Regions from separate parts of the Homo sapiens genome. Here region 1 is linked to region 2. The links are contacts of gene promoters, found by promoter capture Hi-C in blood cells and fetal thymus (Javierre and others, 2016). All regions are on one chromosome and are shown on one strand. Each heading gives the region's core, a stretch centred on a gene start or on the middle of the fragment in contact. The rest is flanking DNA. Distances are from core to core; before and after follow the strand shown.

Evidence for each region. Contacts are between HindIII fragments. The CHiCAGO score rates a contact against its expected background, and 5 or more counts as called.
Region 1: a fragment that was not itself captured here is called in contact with the fragment with the promoter of HS3ST3A1 in region 2 in 3 of 17 cell types (M2 macrophages, M1 macrophages and M0 macrophages); the score reaches 16.7 in M2 macrophages.

What each region holds. Positions count from the first base shown.
Region 1 is chr17:15,210,299-15,215,626 of GRCh38, forward strand. No RefSeq gene overlaps it. Among named protein-coding and RNA genes, the nearest start is that of MIR4731, 39 kb to the right of the region's middle. The HindIII fragment of the contact is 2,523 bases long and covers 705-3,227 here.
Region 2 is chr17:13,598,452-13,603,677 of GRCh38, forward strand. It overlaps HS3ST3A1 (heparan sulfate-glucosamine 3-sulfotransferase 3A1), which reads right to left and starts at 3,478. Exons shown (of 2, transcript NM_006042.3): 1 at 2,080-3,478. The coding sequence starts at 2,678. RefSeq lists an enhancer at 2,432-3,052 and a silencer at 3,901-4,195. The HindIII fragment of the contact is 9,085 bases long and covers 1-5,226 here.

The DNA of each region.
Region 1 (5,328 bases), core at 716-3,215, 1.6 Mb after region 2:
TTCTGGGCAGAGTCAATGCTTACTCTCTTGTCAATTGAAAGTTTTGAACACTGCCCTTTCCTGCAGGAGTCTCTGATTCTTACTGCAGGGGATTGGAGTCAACATAATTAACCTTCTGCTTCCTAACAACCACTGAGATAATTTGATATGTGTCCCCTGTAATTTGAGGGACAAAAAAAAGCAGGCTTCTAATTCACATCTGGACAAGCAAAATGCAGGATGCTGTGGCTGGCTGGTTGCTCTGATCACAGAGAGGTGACTGTATGTGGAATGTCACATGGGCTTTCCATGAGCCAGACCTGTAGCTTTGGAAAGGAGCTTTGCCCAGTCCAATGTAGATGAGCAATTATTAGCTTGTGTGCTAGTAGAAATTTTGTTCAGAAATCATATGAAATTGCTGGTATGCAAAATGTAAATGAGCTAGTTACATACATACAGCACATATGCGGAGCACTCTTCTGGGCTCTAGAGTACATATATGAATCTGTTCCAATGTGGGGCATGGGGTGAAATCTAGCTGGTGATGTGGTGATGAGCCATTCTACATGGTGATGTGGGCTGTGTAGGAAGATGATGGGAATGCCACAGTGGCCTCAGTGATAACACAAAATTCTCAGTCCTTTATATATTTAGGTGGGTAATGTTGTAAAGCACTGAGTTATAATTATTCAAATATATATTTTATATTGCAGTGGTGAAGGGAAAGCTTCCCCTTTGCTCTTGGAAGGTTCACTGAAAAATGAACTAATAAAAAAGCAGATTAAGAAGAGAAAAAGCATACAAATGTATTACTACCATGCACAGGGGAAGAATCACAGTGGTTGCCCAGTATCCCAGTGGGATATGGATGGTGATATACCCTACTTCTTAGGGGAAAGGGAGATGGGAAGTGTGGATGATTTTTGGGAGATTGTAAATGATTTATTTTTAGGGGAACTCAATGGGTTTGAAGAACATACAACGGTCTTAGACAAAGTCTGTTAGGCCCACAGGGAAGAAAGTGGTTTGTGAAAAAAGTCTCTAGGTTTGTTAACAGACTTTAGTCTTCTTTCTTATGATATGGGTTCAGTTCACGAAAACTCAGGAAAGACAAGTGGTAATTGTTTTGTACTCTGGTAGGTCTGGACTTTAGGCAGATACTTCAGAGAACAGCTTCATCCTGTGCTTCAGGAGAGGTTAAGGACTGACAGCAAGGGAGGGAGGAAAAACAATGTTCTCCTTGGTGGATCTGCCCAGTCTTTATGCAGATAGGGGAAAAGTCTCTTCCAGCATCTACTGATCTCTAAAGGCCTGTAATTCAAAATACGCATTATACCTTGCTCCTTTGATATCCTAGCTCCTGATCCATTAATGGATCAGAAAACAAAGAAAATACATCCAGAAGATGTTGGCACTTCATCAAAGGGCAACAAAAGAAAATGCGTTTTTGGAAATAATATAGTTAAACTCCAGGAGCATTATGAAATCTGTATAGGTCTTGTCCAAGACATTCTGTACAGATGATCTTTTACTATAACAATAAATATTTATTGGAAACCTTATTTTGTTGGATAAATAGACTGTGGGCAAAATTCAAACATTGCTCATTACTTAATCAAAGCCTATATTCATATGACCCCTTAATTACCCTGATACATTCCCAAGAGTCTAAATTACCTTCTCCAACAAGGTTGTAAACTTCCTAAAGGAAGATCTGTCCCTGTCATTTTTGTTGTCTTTCTTTTTTTTTTTTGAGATGGAGTTTTGGTCTTGTTGCCCAGGCTAGAGTGCAACGACGCGATCTCGGCTCACAGCAAACTCCGCCTCCCGGGTTCAAACCATTCTCCTGCCTCAGCCTCCGGAGTAGCTGGGATTACAGGCATGCGCCACCACGCCCGGCTAATTTTGTATTTTTAGTAGAGACAGGGTTTCTCCATGTTGGTCAGGCTGGTCTCGAACTCTGGACCTCAGGTGATCCACCCACCTCGGCCTCCCAAAGTGCTGAGATTACAGGCGTGAGCCACCGCGCCCGGCCTGTTGTCTTTCTTAGGGTCTTTATTTGCACAGTGAATATAAACATTAGTTTATAATTAATTTCACTGTTCCCTCTGCTCAACCCTAGCCAATTATGTTTTAATGATGCCACATTGTATAGCCCGTATGAAACGATATTATGATATTTCTATAGTGTCTGAAGTATTAACAGTTGCCTGTGTGTCCTACAGTTTTCAGCAAGCTGCAGGGGTGAAGGGGAGATGGTAGGAATGAGGAAGAGAATTGAAGGACTTCAAATGAAAAACTCTAAGTCCCCAAAGACAAACAGGGCCTAATAAACACAACAGTAACAATAATACCTAACACATATTAGGTGCTTACTATTTGCCAGCATTATGTCACTTAGCACTCACCTCTGTGATATAGATACTATTATTATCTTGGAAAGTTCAAATAACATCCCACAGTCAGTGAAAAAGCTGGATTTGAATGCAAGATGCCTGAACCCCATGCTCTTAACTTCCACCTCACACAGGGCTGGCCGCCTCTTGAGGCTTATACGGCCTTTTTTTTTTTTTTTTTTTTTTTGACAGAGTCTTGCTCTGTCACCCAGGCTGGAGTCCAGTGGCGTGATCTTGGCTCACTGCAACCTCTGCCTCCCGGGTTCAAGTGATTCTTCTGCCTCAGCCTCCTGAGTAGCTGGGACTACAGGTTCATGCCACCACGCCTGGCTAATTTTTGTATTTTTAGTAGAGACGAGGTTTCACCATATTGGCCAGGCTGATCTCGAACTCCTGACCTCGTGATCCACCCTCCTTGGCCTCCTGAAGTGCTGGGATTACAGGTGTGAGCCACCATGCCTGGGCTACATGGCTTTTTTAATGACAAGTTAGAGCAAGCTAACTTCCTAGTCAATTCAAGAATGAAAAAACAACAACAAATAAACACCATTGTTTGGCATTGTGGAGACAATGATGGGATTGAATTTATGAACTCTAGGCGTTCTTCTTCCCCTAATCCAGAGAAATCACTACAAGGCCACTTTCATTTCTTTCCCTAAAGAGGGACCACCTAAAACGCTCTGCCCCTGAGGGCACGAGATAAAGTCCATGGTGGGACTTTAGTGCTGAGCCTTGCAAAGGATCGATCTCACGCTTCACTTTTCTCATCAGTGGCTTCATCTGAAGCAGCATGATGGTTAAGAAGGCTTCGGGTGAAAATGACTCAAAGTAACAAACCAGACACCCATTTAAAGCTTCCCAGTGTGTTAAAAGCATGTCTCTTCACTGCAAGACAAATACTGTGGGATCAACAAGCCCTGGAGACAGATGGAAGAAATTCCAAACAGCCTCAGGTGGTTCGTAGTCAGCTAGCCAGCCACCAAAGCCAGTGGCTCACCCCTGGGAGCCTCCTGCCCTGGGGTCTACACATAGAAATAGTCATTTGGTTCATTTCATTGACCATTTAAAAAGTATATTTTGCTTAGTGCACAAGTACAGCTAGGAGTGAAAAAAATTATGAAAATGAATTCTATTCAAAATTTTTAGTTTGTGGGTTTGAAGTTAGGTAAGAGGAACAAGAGAGCCAATAGTTCTATTACCCAAGCAGGGGCTCCCCCTGCTGGAAATCTATTTTGAAACCCATAAATTGTTAATGATGCCTTCTTGAATTACCTATATGGCAGTGGAACAAGAAAAGCGCCAGTAATTTAAATATTTAAGGCTGATATCATCTATCTACATAGGTAATGAAAGTGTTTCCTATACTTCTAGAGTTCAAATAAATAAAACAAGATTCACCTGCTTTAGGATGAATAGAATGAATACAGAATGGTGTTATAAATTTTAGGAAAATGCACCAGAAAATGATTTTTGTGTTGTTGCTGTTGTTATTCTTAATTTGGCAGAGCAATAGAATTATCCTGGAAAATATCTAATGGAACCCAAAAGAGTAAGAGGGTAAAAGGGATGATTTTGTACTCAACATCCTGATAGACAATTAGGAAAAGTTTTTCAGCTGCAGTCTATCTGAGATATAGACTCACCTTGTATTTCTCAGAGACTTAGGTCCTAACCATGTAAGCATCTCAAGATGATCGTCGTAACTCCCCAACTCTTAAACCTACTGGCCCAAACAAGAGGAATCAACATGTTGAAGATTGTATATCCTATATCTGTGATGCAGTAATACAGCTTAGGCATTTAAAAATCTTATGTTACCTTGGCTCCATCTGAAATTTTTTTAAAGAGAGAAGGAGAGAGAGAGAGAGAGAGAGAGAGAGAGAGAGAGAGAGAGAGAGAGAGAGAACCAGTATAAATTCCAAACAGTATCATTTGAAATTCTAAACATGTAGATTTAAATTTTGGAATGCGCAGACTAGACTGTGAGTGATACGGTCTAAAAGGCATTATCAACTATGTCAAATCAATAAATCAATCATGAATTCTCTTGCAATTCACAACAGCCCCTCGCAAAAGAGTGCAACAATGTGAACACTGCCAAATGTATAGAAATGACTCTTCCTATAGAGTGGCCAACAAGACAAACTGACATTTTCTCTGTACTAATAGAGATTGAGTTCATAGCACATTTCCTCTCTCTTCAACACACACACACACACACACACACACACACACACACACACACACACCCTGACAACACTCATGCTGTCTAACCAGCTGAGACTGCATTTCTCACTTTGAACATCAAAGTGATAAATCAAGATTCAATTCAACATCATTTGCTGAGTGCCTTCTGTGGACTCCGTGGGAGATTTGTAACAATCTAAAAGATTATAAGAGAGAAGAGCATATGATATGTCTACAAATAAACTTTTGAGTGTGAGTTAAGAAGAGTATTCATTTTTACACTGAACTGGAGATCCATGACTCTATTAACACCTTGATTCTGATATAATTCAATTTATAGAAGTGATCTTCCTCACAGAGAATATAGTCTGTTCAAAGTTGGATCCACTAAACCTACTGTGGTATTGTAGATAATCAACAACAATGTTCTGAGTTAAGTTGAAATGAGAATTTTATCAAAATACTGTTTTATAGCTAGCTTTTATCATTTTATAATGTGATATGTAATGCAATGTATTGTGATTATATTTCCATTTTGATAAATATTCTGATACAACAACATTTCTAATAGCTGCTGGCATTTCATTTTAAGGATGCATCATCATTTACTTAAATACTATTTTATTATTGTTTCCAAGTTTTCCTGTTATAAACAAATCTGAAATGAACGTCTTTGAAGACGCTAAATCTTTGCACATGGCCTTGACTATTCCCTTAGAGTAAAATCCAACAGGAAAAATTGTTAGGTCAAAGGATATTTTCATAT
Region 2 (5,226 bases), core at 2,228-4,727:
AAAACCACTGCAAATGGGAAAACAAAGACATTGCTCCAACACTTAGAAAATTAAATTCAGCAAACCGTGAAGTCTACTGTGCAGTTATTTTTGTGACCACCATAAATTGCTTTACAAAACTCTTCTGCTGCAGTAAACAATCCAAGAAGAGATTTACTTTATAGCATGCATTCAGTTTCCAAAGGAAAGAGTGGCCTACAAGTTTATGACTCTTTTTTTTTCTTTCTTTCTTTTTTTTAAAAAACTACTTGTGTTTCTAGTTACCTTGAAACCTTCCTCCCCTTACAGGAGCTCAGAAAGGTCCATGGAAAATAAGATCCAGGTCTGCAGATACACCGTGCCCTCAAATACTCATTTCTGGAATAAGAAGAAACAATCCTACTTTGTGGAAATAAAGTTTATATGGCAAAAGGAAAATAAAGGGTTTTAGTACTAAATATTTCACCATATTTAATAGCACCTCAGAGCCCAACATAGTGTTAGATGTTTCAGACAGTCAGCTTGAAATGTGTTCGCTTACAGCACAGTACGAGGCCGAATTCAATGCAAACTGCTATAGATAAGAGTTTTAGGGGTCTTTAATCACTTCTTTCTCGTGTCCTTGATGGAAAAAACAGAGCTGCCTTTGTGCTAAAAAGAAGGACCTGTTGTTTCCAGATTCAACAGGTCATTTTTATAAGAACTTCCCAGAGGATACAACATAAATGACAGAAACACAAGGGGATATTTTAAGTGGCTGATGATTTTAAATGATATATCATCTATATTAAGGGAAGGTTGTTTGTTTTTTCTTTCCAACAAATGGAAAGTTACTGTTTTAAAAGTGTTTAATGTTCAAATTCTATTTTTAGGGCCAAATCTTTTCTCTCTGAGTGGATTGACTGTAAATTCGGCTCCTGAAATCAATCTGAGACTGCAATTGGCCCCTCAAGTAAATAAACTTGTCAAATCATATCCATTTCTGTGTTGGGGATGAATGATTAATTTAATGGGCTTTTTGAAAATACCTAAATTATGTTGTAATTTTTGTAACTGTTTCAGTTAAAATAACAAAGAGAATGCATCTTTTATGAACAAGATAAACTTTATAAAATGGAAAATTCTAGCAACATAATTTTTACTGGTACTTTGAAGAAAGAAAAAAAAAGCCAATATATTATGGCAAACAAAATCCAGGCGACACTAGCTTTATTAGAATCTGGCTGATTTTATTATTAAAGGTGGTCTGAATTTGAAGAGACTGGCAAATTTAAGATTAAGATCTAAGCCAGACTTATTTCCTAAACTGTATTGGCAAAGTTGTGCCAATGTATTTTTCTCTCTGTTGTCTTCTTCTTTTAATTGGCTACCTTATTTGTAAAGAGGATTGAAGATCTTTAGAAAAGTTTCTGTCAGTCAAAAGACAAAAGTTACTTTTCCCTGCAAATATCAAAAGCACTTTACAAAACTCATTCCTTGCCCTCAAACAAAAGTTATTGCCAAGCGTCCTTTAAAATACAGTGCCTGGTTGCTTTCCCTTGCTCAGACAGACATATATTTTCCAAACTACCCAGATTCTCTGGTTCTTGACACTTTTACTAAGTCTCTATATTACTTCCCACCTAGGACAACTATCTGGCAAAAGGTCAAGGTAAATAAATACCTGATGGTAAAGACTGTGTTAACCACAAAGAACTTTCCAAAAGATAAAGAATGAAAACGGGCTTCCTTGGGAAGGAGAAGGCAATCTATTAATTGTTGAACAGGTTTCTAATTTAGAAGAGACTTTTTTTTTTTCCTTTAGTTAAATACATGAATACTTTCGCAGAGCAGGAGAAAGAGACCAGACTGGCTATTTGCTGGCAAGGGATTCCCAAGGATGAAAATTATGAAGGCCAGAATTTCCCTCCCACTCTCTCCTTCAACATCCACTTCCCAGGAAGGAGAAGGCGGAGAGGGAAGAAAGACCCTTGACGACCCTTCGCCTTCTGCATGAAGTGGGGAGGAGGGCGAACTGGGGGTCACCGAGGGCTCCTCCACGTCTTTCCCAGCCCAGGACCCCCGGATCCTTCAGCCCCAGCCCGGGCCCGCCCCGCTCACCGGTACCAGGCGAGGCCCTTGTCGTAGCTGCGGTCGAAGAAGTGGGGCTCGGCGCCCACGGCGCGCACGTCGGGGTGCACGCGCAGGAACTCCAGCAGCGCCCGCGTGCCGCCCTTCTTCACTCCGATGATGATGGCCTGCGGCAGCTGCTTGCTGCCTTCGTCCAGGAGCAGCGCCAGGGTCCCCGGCGGGGCCTCGGCCACGGTGCTTCCGGCCCCGGAGCCGCCCGGACCCCCTGACAGGCCAGGGGACTCTTCTTCCCAGGCCGCCTCCTCGCCGTCGTCGCGGGGCGCGGGCGGCCGGCGCCTCCGCCACTGCGGCAGTTGCAGGAGGCGCTTTCTCTGTGCCGCCGCCGGCCACACCGCCAGCTCCCTCGGGCCTCCGGCCAGGACGCCGCCACCAGGGGCCCCCGCCTCCTCGCCGCCGCCGGACAGCCCCACGACGGGGCCGGACAGGGTCTGGCAGCGCTCGGCCAGGCAGTAGAAGACGTAAAGGGACGTGAGCAGGGAGCAGAGCATCAGCAAGAACTTCCGGAAGATGCTGCGGGACAGCGGCTCGGCCGAGGTGGAGAGGGCACTGGCCGGGCCCGGAGGGGCCATCCTAGCCGGAGGCGACGTCGGGCAACGCGCCGGCCATGCTAGGCCTGGACCCCGACAGGTGCCAGAGCATCCCCCCGGCGGGCCAGCGCGCTGGACGGAGGCCACATCGCCGTGCGCCCCTGTGGCCGTGCGAACTGTCCCGGGAGGCAGCGGCCGGGGCTCCGCGGGGAAACGGAATCCCGGGGGCCCCGCGCAGGATCCCTGCCTCCAGTCGAGGGAGCGGGAAGGGGAACGCGGGTCCGTGCTTAAGAAACCATCGTCTTAGACTCGCCCAAGTCCTGAGCTTGGGGCAGCCTTGGCCCCTCGGTTCCCCGCAAGAGTCGCCGGAATCGGGGTCTTGGCAGCGGTGTCGAAGGCGTGCGTCTCAGCCCCGGCCCCGAGAGACTTCTCGGCGCGGATCTCCGCTCAGCGATCCTGCATCACTGGCTCGGTCCCCGTGAGGGCACGCGCGGCTGCCGGGCCTCTGCGCTCCGTGCGCTCCAGACAGTGGCGAGCGACAGTGACTTCCAGCCCCGGCTTTCTCTGGTCCCCTTGCCCGCCTGGGCGCGTTCTCTCCGCCCGAGTTCAGGTTCTCTCAGCCAAGGAGCGAGGTCCCCCCGAGTCCCTCTGCCCGAGCGGGAGACAGGAGGCCCGTGCAGAGCCGTCCACCCCTCTCCGTAGCGCCGGGTTGCTCCAAACTGCTCTTGGACCCCACCTGTGAGCCGCGTGGCTGGGCTGGGCTGGGCTGCGCGGGACCTGTCAGCGGCCCCCGCCACTCTGCTCGCAGGCGCTCACCGGCTGCCTCCTGGGCCGCCGCTGGCCGCCGCCACACGTGGGACGCCGAGGGCAGCAAACTTGCTGGTGACGTCAAAGGCCCGGGCCGGACCAGCCCCCGGACGAGCGCAGCGGGGCGCGGACCAGCGGCCAGGCGGGGCCAGACGGGCGGGGTGGGATGGAGAAAAGGTGGCGCGGGCTCCGCAGCAGCCGCCCAATGGCACTGGAGAGGGCGGGGGCGGCAGGGGCGACGCCCCTTCCCCAGTGTCCCCCATTCCTCCCCGCGGCTTCGCCCCCTTCCAGTGGATCCGGTGTCTGCGGCGGCTCCGGGGTTGCCTGAGTGACAGCTAAGGCCGGCCGGATCTCTGGGGGCCTGACTTCCACCCAAGACGCCACTAGCTTGGTGAGGGGCCCCAGAGCTCTCCACCGCAGCTCAGCCCTCCGCAGCCCTGACCCTCCCTCTCCAGGTTCCCCGCGCTCTGCTCCCCTCTTGGCACTGTTGCCCTATCCTTCCCCATCCCACTGCTTTCCATCGCCTGGAACCTACTCCTCGTCCCCTTGGAAGTTTTGTTTGCAGCAGTTCCCAGTACTGCGCTGCACGCCACGCCCCCGTTTGTCTGGAGCAAACCGAATTCCTCTGCAGCAGCTTGGACTTCTACCTACTCAACTGTCTGCTGCGGGTCTTGGAGCAAAGCTCTTTCTCGTATCAGTCTGTTTTTTGTTTGTTTGTTTTCTTTTCTTTTCTTATTTTGATTGTTTTCCCTTGGATTTGTATAAGATGATACAGTCCTCCAGGGCCTAGAAAGGAACAACCTCTTACGAAAAAAAAAAAAACCAATGCATAAATCAAAGGCAAAATTAAAATTTAAAAAAAATTCAACTCCGATTCCAAGTCCCTATGCCCAATTTTTAATGTAGTGTGTATTTCCTTAATGTTGTTTGTACTTTTGTGTGTGTGTGTGTGTGTGTGTGTGTGTGCGCGCGCGCGCATGCACGCTCGCAAAGAGGTTAAATGTCCTTTCATAAACTGCGGTTTCCTCTTTCCCTTGCCTCCCCTGACCCTATATCCTCTTCGTGCGCTCCCCGGAGAGCAGGTCAGGAAGGGATACAAACCGCCTTGCTGTCTAATGGAGGGAGGTGGCCCGTGGAAGCTGCATGAGGTGGTTTTTTGTTCTAATCCTATTTGTTCCTTATTTTTTGGCTTCCTTGCCTCCACAGGTTGCCTCACCATGTGGGCGGTAGCTTGGGAGCTTCTTACCAGCCCCTGCAAGCTGTGGAGGCAGCTTTCTGGGACCTCTGCGGGTGCTAACAAGGGCCCACCGCAGGCTCAAGGTCCACGGTGCAGGAAACTTACCAGGCATTTCTGCGTCCCCATGCAGGAACTTCGCAGCCTTTCTGTGCTCTATTTGACCACGGAAGTGGAAGTCAGCTTCCACTTTTTCAGCTTCCAAGGGGCACCTAGTGGTTCTAACTCTGGGCTTGCATGGATCCATGAATTTGTGCCCTGCTAGATAAATACTCACTGCTGGATATGGTTTATGGTTTTATGTTTATGAACTACCAATCCCAACTGATTCGACAACCAGTGAAGAGCTTTTTAGATTCTGATGCCGTAAAGCGCTGGGCGTTTACGAGGATGGACAAGCCCTGCCAAGCTGTAATGTCCTTTTGTGTTCTAAAATTGGATATTGACAAACCAGTTGAGATCTAATGCTAACTTAAACTTTCCTGTGTTTTCACATTTTTTCCCTAAGTACTTCAGTCAGATTTGCAGAAGGAAGACAACAAAACAAAG